Linked DNA regions of Homo sapiens: region 2 is linked to region 1. Evidence: promoter capture Hi-C in human tissues and cell types (Jung and others, 2019). All regions are on one chromosome and are shown on one strand. The core of a region is centred on a gene start or on the middle of the fragment in contact, and the rest is flanking DNA. Distances in the headings are between cores, read along the strand shown.

Region 1 (5,120 bases), core at 137-2,636:
TTTTAGCATTCTAAGATTGAACTAGATCACATTAAAAGATGTTGCCCCACATCCCTAAACTGGGAAAAGAATAAGGTTTTATTTATAAAAGTTCAAACCATAGACAGAAAGGCAATTAAACCCTGGAATGCGGAATCAAAAATATTGGTTTTGTTGCTTAAACTGAGTAAAATAACCTCTAGAAAAAGAAACTAACTACAGGACATTTTTGAAGCATAGGGGAATGACAGTGCAGTTCTAGTCCATGTTATTTTTCAAATTATGTTTCACTATTTCATAGGAAGTGAAAGTGCCTAAGCTGGAAGAAAAGAAAGCAAGTTAGCCTCTGCTGGGTAAAATAGAGAGGTAAGGTTTAAAATAAGAAACAAGATGCTTTTACAACCAGAAAAGGACACACACTAGATTCCTTTGATAACTATAAACTTTTGAAAATATAAAGAAGAAATACATTCCTTGGAAATACGAACAAAGTAGCAGATTCATTCCACAAGGGCAAATACAAAGGAGGAACTTTAAATTATTTAAAACACCTACATAAACTCTATGCTACAAAAATTCTTACCCTAGAGCAGAGAATGGAAATGTAACAAGACAGAGAAATTTCCTTAATACTTCAAAGAATAGAAAAGACACTGGCTATGAAAATCTATAATTTTTGAGGGGGTTTGGTGATGAAGGCACCATGTTAAGTTTAGGCATATGCTTATCGCCTCTGATTCCAGAAATATTCAATTACCTAGTCATTAATTCTAGACTTTATAAAATTAAATCTAACGTTTCATGTTTTCTTAAGTTTACATTTTTATCCTATTGATATTGTAAAAGAATAAATAACAATATGAGTAAATTGCCACAGGTATTTTTCCCAGTGGAGATGAATTTATCACATTATGTTAAAAGGTCAGATTTGATTGAGAGTGAGCAAAGCTGTGGAGCAGAAAGGCGTGATCCCGCTAGAAGTTGCTGTGTGAATATAAACATTCATCACGAGAAATCAAGAAATAGAAAGGCTATGAAAACAGAAGCAAAGTTCTACATATTAAAACCAAAGTGGCAATTTATTTTATGAACAGACATTTTGCTTCATTAAAAACATTCGCTCTTATTCTTAGCATTCAATGAATTTTGCTTTGAATCCAATCTCCTCTTTTCAGTTTGGCAATTAGATACATAAGAAAGAAATAAAGGAGATAACTAGTAAAATCTTAATTCTCAAAGGCACCCTAAATCCAGCTTACCAGATCTCTGAAGTGGAAACGCGAGTTCTAACGGGGAAGTCCGAACAGTTTTGATGTCAGCGTAGACTACATCTCCAGCCATTGCACAGATCAAAAAGAGAGAGAAGACCACAAATGATGTCCCACTGAAGGGACAATCATATTTCTGCAAAGAAACTTCTGATAAGTAAATTGAGATGGCAAATTTCCTTCTGCTCCCCAAGTGGGTGGTGGACTTCCTCCATGAATAAATGACAAAACCAATGTGTTCAGTCTTACTAATCAAGGTAGCAGATTTCTCGAATACTTGTATGACATGGAAGAAATTACTAACCATACAGTAGGTTCTCGTTTTTCAGTTAGTTTTCTGCCTAAACTTGAAATGCTTTTAACTTTTATTAATACCACAGAAGATATCTCACCATTTTCTCCTATAGACCACTTCCTCTTTTAGTTCAGGCATATATTCTCTGGCGGAAACTCTGAATTTCCAGCATCTTCTCCAAAGTAGGATAGCTATTTGGGAAACAGAACAAGAAAAAGAAGGGATTTTATTACGAAAGTTACAGAAAGGGGCCCTATGTCTTTTATCCTCCTCTCTAAATGCATTGTATTGTCTAGATAATACCTTAAAAATTCTGAAAGCTATTTGCTTTCCTGTATGCTTTATAATATTAACATTAAACTGAGGTAAAACATGAATTATGCAGAGGACTTCTGAACTAAAAAATATATATTTAAGAAACAGAAATAACTCTGTTAAAATAATTCAAGGTAATGACATAAAAGAAAAAAATCTAATTTTAAAATGAGGTGTTCAGAAATTTACTATCGAATACAACATAGCAAACATAGATTTTATCTCCTATTTCTTCTAAAATTCCACTAAAATTGAATTAAGTGAATAAAAATTTGTTAGTCTAAAACAATAACACAAAGGCTCAGGGTCCTATTAGTTGATGAAAAATTTCAACTAATTCCTGGAAAATGGAGAGTAGATGGAGATGTGATCATTGATGAAGAAGTAAAATCAGAGAAAAATGCAGCCAACACCATACAGAGGGAAATAATGGAGGAGAGCCTAGCTACCTGTGAAACCGTCATAGGACATAGAAATGTCAGATATGAAAAATGGCAGGATCCATTAGCTTATGACTAGTAGATTAACTGGAAATCTGCATATGGAAAAACTGGTTTTTTCAATACCCACTCAAGTGCATTCTGCAGAATTAATCTAAACTGCAGTCACCCCATCCCTACCCCTCATCCAAGAAATTTAACTTAGGTTAATTAAATAACTAGAGAACAGATCCTGGCTTTGTGGCATTTAGGGATCCCTCCTATAAAGACCAACTTCTGACCCTGGATGAGGCTTGAGCACCGACCTCTGTCTCTTAAGACTGCATGACACTCTCTCCCTTTTCTGGGCTGTTCCAACTGTTTGTATGTGACTAGACAATACCTACTACATACATGAAAAACTGACTTTTAGAGGTTTTATTATCTGCAGGTGGTTGCATAACCAATAATTTTTTTTTTTTTGAGACGGAGTCTCACTCTGTCACCCAGGCTGGAGTGCAGTGGCGCGATCTCGGCTCACTGCAAGCTCTGCCTCCCGGGTTCATGCCATTCTCCTGCCTCAGCCTCCCGAGTAGCTGGGACTACAGGCGCCCGCCACCACGCCCGGCTAATATTTTGTATTTTTAGTAGAGACGAGTTTCACGGTGGTCTCGATCTCCTGACCTCGTGATCTGCCCGCCTCAGCCTCCCAAAGGCATAACCAGTACATTTTAAGAGTGATAACTGAGTTCTAAGTCCATGCCATAATTCAACTATGCTGTCTAGATTTTGAGGGTAAGACTCACATTTTATTATTTTTATTTTCATCACTTAGTTTTGTGTGAAACATAACAGCCGCTCAGTAATTATGTGTTGAATTACCAAATCAGTTATGCTATGCTGAATGTTATAATTAGGCTATAACAGTTTTCCAGAATGAGAATAATCATTTTTCACTAAAAAGTAGACTTTTATTCATATGAAAAATATGACTGATGGGCCGGGTGCCCTGGCTCATGCCTGTAATCCCAGCACTTTGGGAGGCCGAGACGGGCGGATCATGAAGTCAGGAGCTCGAGACCAGCCTGGCCAACATAGTGAAATCCCATATCTGCTAAAAATATAAAAAATTAGTCGGGCGTGGTGGCGTACGCCTGTAATCCCAGCTACCTGGGAGGCTGAGGCAGAAGAATGGGTTGAACTTAGGAGGCAGAGGTTGCAGTGAGCTGAGGTCGCGCCATTGCACTCCAGCCCTGGAGACAGTGCAAGACTCCGTCTCAAAAAAGAAAAATATGACTGATGATCTAGTCATATAAAAGTAAAAAAATTACTAGCATGTAGAGTATTAAAAGAGTGTTAAAAAATTAGGGTAAGTATGTCAATTTCTGCCATGAAAAAGGCAGCTGGGATTCAGCAGATCAATTTTGGGAATAGTGCAAACTGAGTAATATTCATTTTTTCAATCCATAAATACAGAATCTCTCCTTTATTTAGATATTCCTTAATCTATTTCAGAAATGGTTTGCATTGTTCACAGAATAACTCTTACACTTCTGTTATTAAACTTATTCTTTATTTTATTATTTTTGATGTTATTGTAAACAAAGATTTTTCTAAATTTCATTTTTGGATTGTTCATTGCTAGTCTGTAAAAGCACTATTACTATTTTATATTGATTTTTATCCTGTAATCTTGCTGAACTTGTTTATTACCTCTAATTTTTATTGCTGTTGTGAATGTTTTAGGATGACATGATATGCAAGATCATGTTATCTGCAAATAAAGACAGTTTCACTTCTTCCTTTCGTATTCTTGTTTTATTCCCTTGGCAAGAAACTCCAGCATGATGCTGAATAGAAGAGGTGAAAGCAGATCTACTCCATCATTTTCACCAATATCATCCCCAGGTTGGGTTATCAAGGACTGGCTTTGCAGCATCAGGGCAACGAGTCCTTGTTATGTACAGCGCAAAGACTTAGTTAATGAATTCAAAATCACTAATGTTTATTTTTACACAGTTCTTTCATATGCGATATATATATATATATATATATATATTTTAATAGTTTAGACGGAGTCTCCCTCTGTCGCCCAGCCTGGAGTGCAGTGGCGCGATCTCAGCTCACTGCAAGCTCCGCCTCCCAGGTTCACGCCATTCTCCTGCCTCAGCCTCCCGAGCAGCTGGGATTACAGGTGCCCGCCACCACGCCTGGCTAATTTTTTGTATTTTTAATAGAGACAGGTTTTCACCATGTCAGCCAGGATGGTCTCGATCTCCTGACATCGTGATCCACCCGCCTCGGACTCCCAAAGTGCTGGGATTACAGGCGTTGAGCCACCGTGCCTGGCCTATATGTTATATTTTTTTTTAACAAAGGTTATCCTATTATATTTTCTCTCTGTGTTAGACGTGCTTAAATTAAAATTTACATGTGTATTGATGGACCACAGGTCATATCCAAATCTGACTTAGACACAGACACATAATTGTGAGATCCTGGAGGTGAAGATAAAGACAATAATTGCACAGAAGTATATTTCTCTTAATGGAGGGGCTTCATGTTTATTTATGTATATGTTTTCAGTAGTGGTTTGTGTCATTAAGTTTTTGAAAAGGAAGGTTTTTTTTATATTTAGTTTGAAAAGAAGAATGTGCTTACATAGCCAATACTAAATGCAGTCATAAAAGTGTTTTAACATCTTTGTATGTTTGTTTCTTCATTTCTGTCACTTCATGGTACTTTTTAAAAATTTACACAGTTACTTGTTATTGTTCATATCTTCTGTTTCTTGGCATGTTGAATAATTCCTGATTAGATGCTGGATATTATGATTTATGTTTA
Region 2 (5,150 bases), core at 944-3,443, 280 kb before region 1:
CTTAAGGACTTTTCAGAAAGTCTGGTTCTGGGAGATGACCAATGGGATCATCTTATGCTATGAGCTTTCCTGGAATGACAGGTAATTGGTGCGCCTTCCCAGCAGGGTCAGGGAGAGTCGCTGGGACTTGAAGGGAAGGCTTTTGGGGAGAGGAGCCAGTGTTACAAACTATCGAAAAGCTTGGAGGTGGGAAATTTGCGAAAGGTGATTCCAGGGTCAGCTTTTTTGTCACCTGCTTCCGACTTCGGCAGTTTGGAGAGGGCGAGTAATACCCTTCAGGGTCTTGGGATGTGGCCCAGCAAAATCCTTAGAGGGTCTTTGGAGTCGTAGTTTTAAGTTTAGAATTAATGGGCAGAGTATTTAAATAGCCATTTCTCCAAAGATGTATACAAATGGCCCACAAACTCATAAAAATGTTGCATTCCACCCTATAACATGTTTTTGCATAAAAAATTTTTAAAATAACTGTTGTCTGGTAAATTGACACCTCTGGAATAGAAGGTACGCTAGGTTTTTTACCCTACTGCTTCAAACCCCATTCTACACACACACTCCTAGGGTGTGAATCATCCAGTTTAAGAAGCACCCTTGGAGAAACAGAAAGTTGATAGTGTGTCCAGAATTGATGAGTTCTTGGTCTCACTAACGCAAGACAGAAGCTACAGACCCTCACGGTGTTAGTTTTATAAAGGCGGTGTGTCTGGAGTTTGTTCCCTCGGATGTTCCAATAGGTTCGGAGTTTTTTCCTTCTGGTGGGTTTGTGGTCTTGCTGGCTCAGGAGTGAAGCTGCAGACCTTCGCCTGAGTGTTACAGCTTTTAAGACGGCGTGTACTGGAGTTGCTCGTTCACCCCGGTGGGTTCGTGCTCTCACTAGCTTCAGGAGTGAAGCTGCAGACATTTACAGTGAGTGTTACAGCTCGTAAAGGCAGTGCAGACCTAAAAAACAAAAAGAACAAAGCTTCTATACTCTGGTAAGACAATCCCAGTGAGTTACTGTTGCTGGCTTAGGGCAGCCTGTGTTTATTCTCTTCTCTGGCCCAACCCACATCCTGCTGATTGGTCCATTTTACAGAGAGCTGATTGGTCCATTTTACAGAGAGCTGATTGGTCTGTTTTACAGAGTGCTGATTGATCCGTTTTGACGGGGTGCTGATTGGTGCGTTTATAATCCCTGAGCTAGACACAAAAGTTCTCCAGGTCACCGCTAGATTAGCTAGATACAGAGTGTCGATTGGTGTATTTACAAACCGTGAGCTAGACACAGAGTGCTGATTGGTGCATTTACAAACTTTGAGCTAGATACAGAGTGCCGATTGGTGCATTCACAATCCCTTAGCTAGACAAAGGTTCTCCAAGTCCCCACCAGATTAACTAGATACTGAGTGCCAATTGGTTCATTCACAAACCCTGAGCTAGACACAGGGTGCTGATTGGTGTGTTTGCAAACCTTGAACTAGATACAGAGTGCCGATTGGTGTATTTACAATCCCTTAGCTAGACATAAAGGTTCTCCAGGTCCCCACTAGACTTAGGAACTCAGCTGGCTTCACCAAGTGGATGCGGCAGGGGGCAGCAGGTGGAGCTGCCTGCCAATCCCGCGCTGTGCACCGGCACTCCTCAGCCCTTTGGGGGTTGATGGGACTGGGCACCGCGGATTAGGGGGCGGCGCTCGTCGGGCAGGCTCCGGCCGCGTAGGAGCCCATGGCTGGGGCGCCGGCGGGCGGCTCAGTCATGGCGGGCTGCTCAGTCATGGTGGGCTGCAGGTCCCGAGCCCTGCCCCGCGGGGAGGCAGCTAAGGCCCGGCGAGAAATGGAGCACGGCAGCTGCTGGCCCAGGTACTAAACCCCTCACTGCCCCGGGCTGGCGGGCCGGCCGCTCCGAGTGCGGGGCCCGCCGAGCCCACGCCCACCGGGAACTCGCGCTGGCCCGCAAGCGCCGAGCGCAGCCCCGGTTCCCGCCTGCGCCTCTCCCTCCACACCTCCCTGCAAGCTGAGGGAGCTGGCTCCGGCCTTGGCCAGCCCAGAAAGGGGCTCCTACAGTGCAGCTGCGGGCTGAGGGGCTCCTCAAGCGCGGCCAGAGTGGGTGCCAAGGCCGAGGAGGCGCCAAGAGCGAGCCAGGGTTGCGAGGGCTGCCAGCAGGCTGTCACCTCTCAATAGGACGTGAAGGTCGGTCGGGGTCTGGTTGTAGAAGGCTTTAAACAACAAGCTAATAAATTTATACTTCACACTGTAGACAAGTTGCAAGTCACTGAAACATTTTTAAACAGAGGAGTGGATTTGCAAATGCAGTGTCTTGGAAATAGTAAGCTGGAAGCAGTGTGAAGGATGGTTTGGAGAGACCAGAAGCAAGCAGCCAAGTTGGGTTGTGCAGTAAACCAAGCAGTGCAGTAGAGGCTTAGACCTCAAGAGTGACAATAGACATGGAGAGGACAAAGGCCGTACCCACCAGGCTGTAAATCTGCATTGTGTCCCTCCATCCTCCCCTCGCTTCTGCCCTGGAGGCTTATATTTAGAGAGCTGTACTCCTAACGTGAGGCCCTGGGCTTTGTCTCAAAGGTAAAGGCAAAAGTTCCTTATGTGGACTACCTCTGCATTTGTTATTAAACAGCCTTAGATGATGCCATTAATTGAATGAACTCAGAGGCCTTCTTGATAAACTCTCAAAACTCAGGGCTTAGGAAGAAAAGTGCTTGTACTAATGTAGAAATATTTTCTATAACCGGACAGTAAGAGCTATAGAAACCCATTATGCATTCTTCTTTGCCTTCACTGCTAGTGATCTCAGGGCTAAATATTGTACATTGTTTTAGTTTTCTTCGGCAAGCATTTTTTAATTTTGTTGTTGTTGTTCTCATTCCTTCTTGCTAATTTTAAGTGCATTTTCTAATAAAGTCTGACTGCCTGGTGGGCAGATCACGAGGTCGGGAGATCGAGACCATCCTGGCTAACACGGTGAAACCCCGTCTCTACTAAAAATACAAAAAAAAAAAAATTAGCCGGGCGTGGTGGTGGGTGCCTGTAGTCTCACCTACTTGGGAGGCTGAGGCAGGAGAATGGCGTGAACCTGGGAGGCGGAGCTTGCAGTGAGCCGAGATCACGGCACTGCACTCCAGCCTGGGCGACAGAGCGAGACTCCGTCTCAAAAAAAAAAAAAAAAAAAAAAGTCTGACTGCCTGGATCCAGATATTCCCCACTCCACCATTCAACTGGCTGAATGACCTTGGCCTATGACTTAAGCCTTCTGAGTCTCTGCTTTTCTCACGAATAAAATAAAGATAATAATAGGACCTATGTTCTAGAATTCTTATGAGATAAGTGAGATAATCCTGGTAACATAAAGGGCTTAACATCTTACATGTCATTGTGGAAGCTTAACAAATGGTAGCTATTACTGATATGAATTGGGTTTGGTTTCAGCGTTCCTCTGCTTTTATTATAAATTTCCTTAGATCCTCTTCTAGAAGGAGAGCATGTAGGAGGTACAAGTTTGTTTTCAACAAGCAATTCTCTCGGGAACTAAGAGTGAGAACTGAGTCACTTCTGCCATAAGGGCAGCAAGCCTTTCATGAGGGATGTACCCCCATGGTCCAAACATTGCCCACCAGACGCCACCTCCAACACTGGAAATCAGATTTCAACATGAGACTTAGGCCAAACAAACCACATCCAAACTGGAACACCTAGGTAGTGGGAAAGGCTCATGAAATGTGCCTGTGCTATAAGAGAAAACATTATTAGAGACTAGATTGTTCTGTCCCCAAAACCCTATATGCCTCACTGTGGAACAGCGCAAGATGCACCCTAATAATATTTACTTCTCTGAACCCCAGTTTCTTGGATTATTATGTCTATCTTGATATGTTACTTTAGCTCATTAAGCCACACCGTAGTGGGGGTGGGACATGTTGTTTCTTCACATAATAGGTTGATGTACTTAGTCAAACTAAATTTTCAGTGGTGTTTGAAAATGGGGGGACTAGAACTGAGGAAGGTGGTAAAAGCTGGATATATGGATTTGATCACCCCTGGGAAACAACAACAACAACAAAAAACATCTAAACTAAAGCTGTGGAGGTAGTAAGATTACTGAAAGGAAAAGTTTCCAAAAAGAAGGAGGTATCCACATATAAAAGAATGAAGTAGGATCCTTGTCTTATACAATATATCCAAATTAACTTAAGATGGATTTTCTAAAGTTAAAATGAAGTTAAAAATTAAAGTTAAAAGCTATAAAACTATAAAACTGGTAGAAGAAAACAGAGGGGAAAAGCTTTATGACATTGCATTTGGCAATGATTCCTTGGCTATGACACCAAAAAGCACAGGCAACAAAAAAATTGATGATGAGTTGAGGGATTTGTAAAATAACATAAAAATAGATGAATTGGACAACAACAAAAGTTACAACTTCTGTGCATTGAAGGACAGGATCAACAGAGTGAAAAGGCAGCCTACAGAATGGGAGCAAGTATTTGTAAATCATCTATCTGATAAGGGGTTAATAACCAGAATATATAAAGAACTTCTGTATCTCAGCAACATGAAAACAATCTGATTAAAAAAATGGGCAAAATACTTAAATAGATATTTCTCCAAAAAAAGATGTGCAAATGGCCCACAGGCACATGAAAAGATGCTCGACATCCCAGTCACTGGGAAAATGCAACTCAAAGCCACGATGAGGTACCACTGCAATCCACTGGGATGGCTACTATTGCACACACACACACACACACACACACACACACACACAGCCAGGCACAGTGGCTTATACTTGCAATTCCAGCACTTTGGGAAGCTGAAGCGAGAGGATAACTTGAGGGCAGGTGTTCAAGACCATCCTGTGTAACATAGTGAGACCAGATCTCTGCAAAAAATTTAAAAAAATATTAGGGGGTAATCGTGGCACACACCTGTAGTCCCAGCTACCCAAGAGGCTGAGGTAGGAGGATTGTGTGAGCCCAGGAGTTCAAGGCTGTAGTGAGCTATAATTGCACCACTGCACTCCAGCCTGGGTGACAGAGCAAGACCCTGTCTCAAAAAAAAAGAAGAAAGAAAAAACCTCAACCCAAAAGGAGCAAAACAAAAAATAAATGATGGCAAGGATATAGAGAAATTAGAAATTTGTACATGGCTGGTGGGAATGTAAAA

Evidence for each region. The method cuts DNA at HindIII sites, captures the fragments that hold promoters and counts their contacts. A contact is called where the count stands out against the background at its distance.
Region 2: a contact is called between a fragment that was not itself captured here and the fragment with the promoter of CLECL1 in region 1, in 1 of the 25 tissues and cell types used here (hippocampus).

What each region holds. Positions count from the first base shown.
Region 1 is chr12:9,731,711-9,736,830 of GRCh38, forward strand. CLECL1 (C-type lectin like 1) reads right to left here and starts at 1,387. Exons shown (of 2, transcript NM_001441815.1): 1 at 1,239-1,387. The coding sequence starts at 1,320. The HindIII fragment of the contact is 7,841 bases long and covers 1-5,120 here.
Region 2 is chr12:9,448,798-9,453,947 of GRCh38, forward strand. It overlaps the pseudogene OVOS1P. Among named protein-coding and RNA genes, the nearest start is that of LINC02367, 84 kb to the left of the region's middle. The HindIII fragment of the contact is 3,251 bases long and covers 569-3,819 here.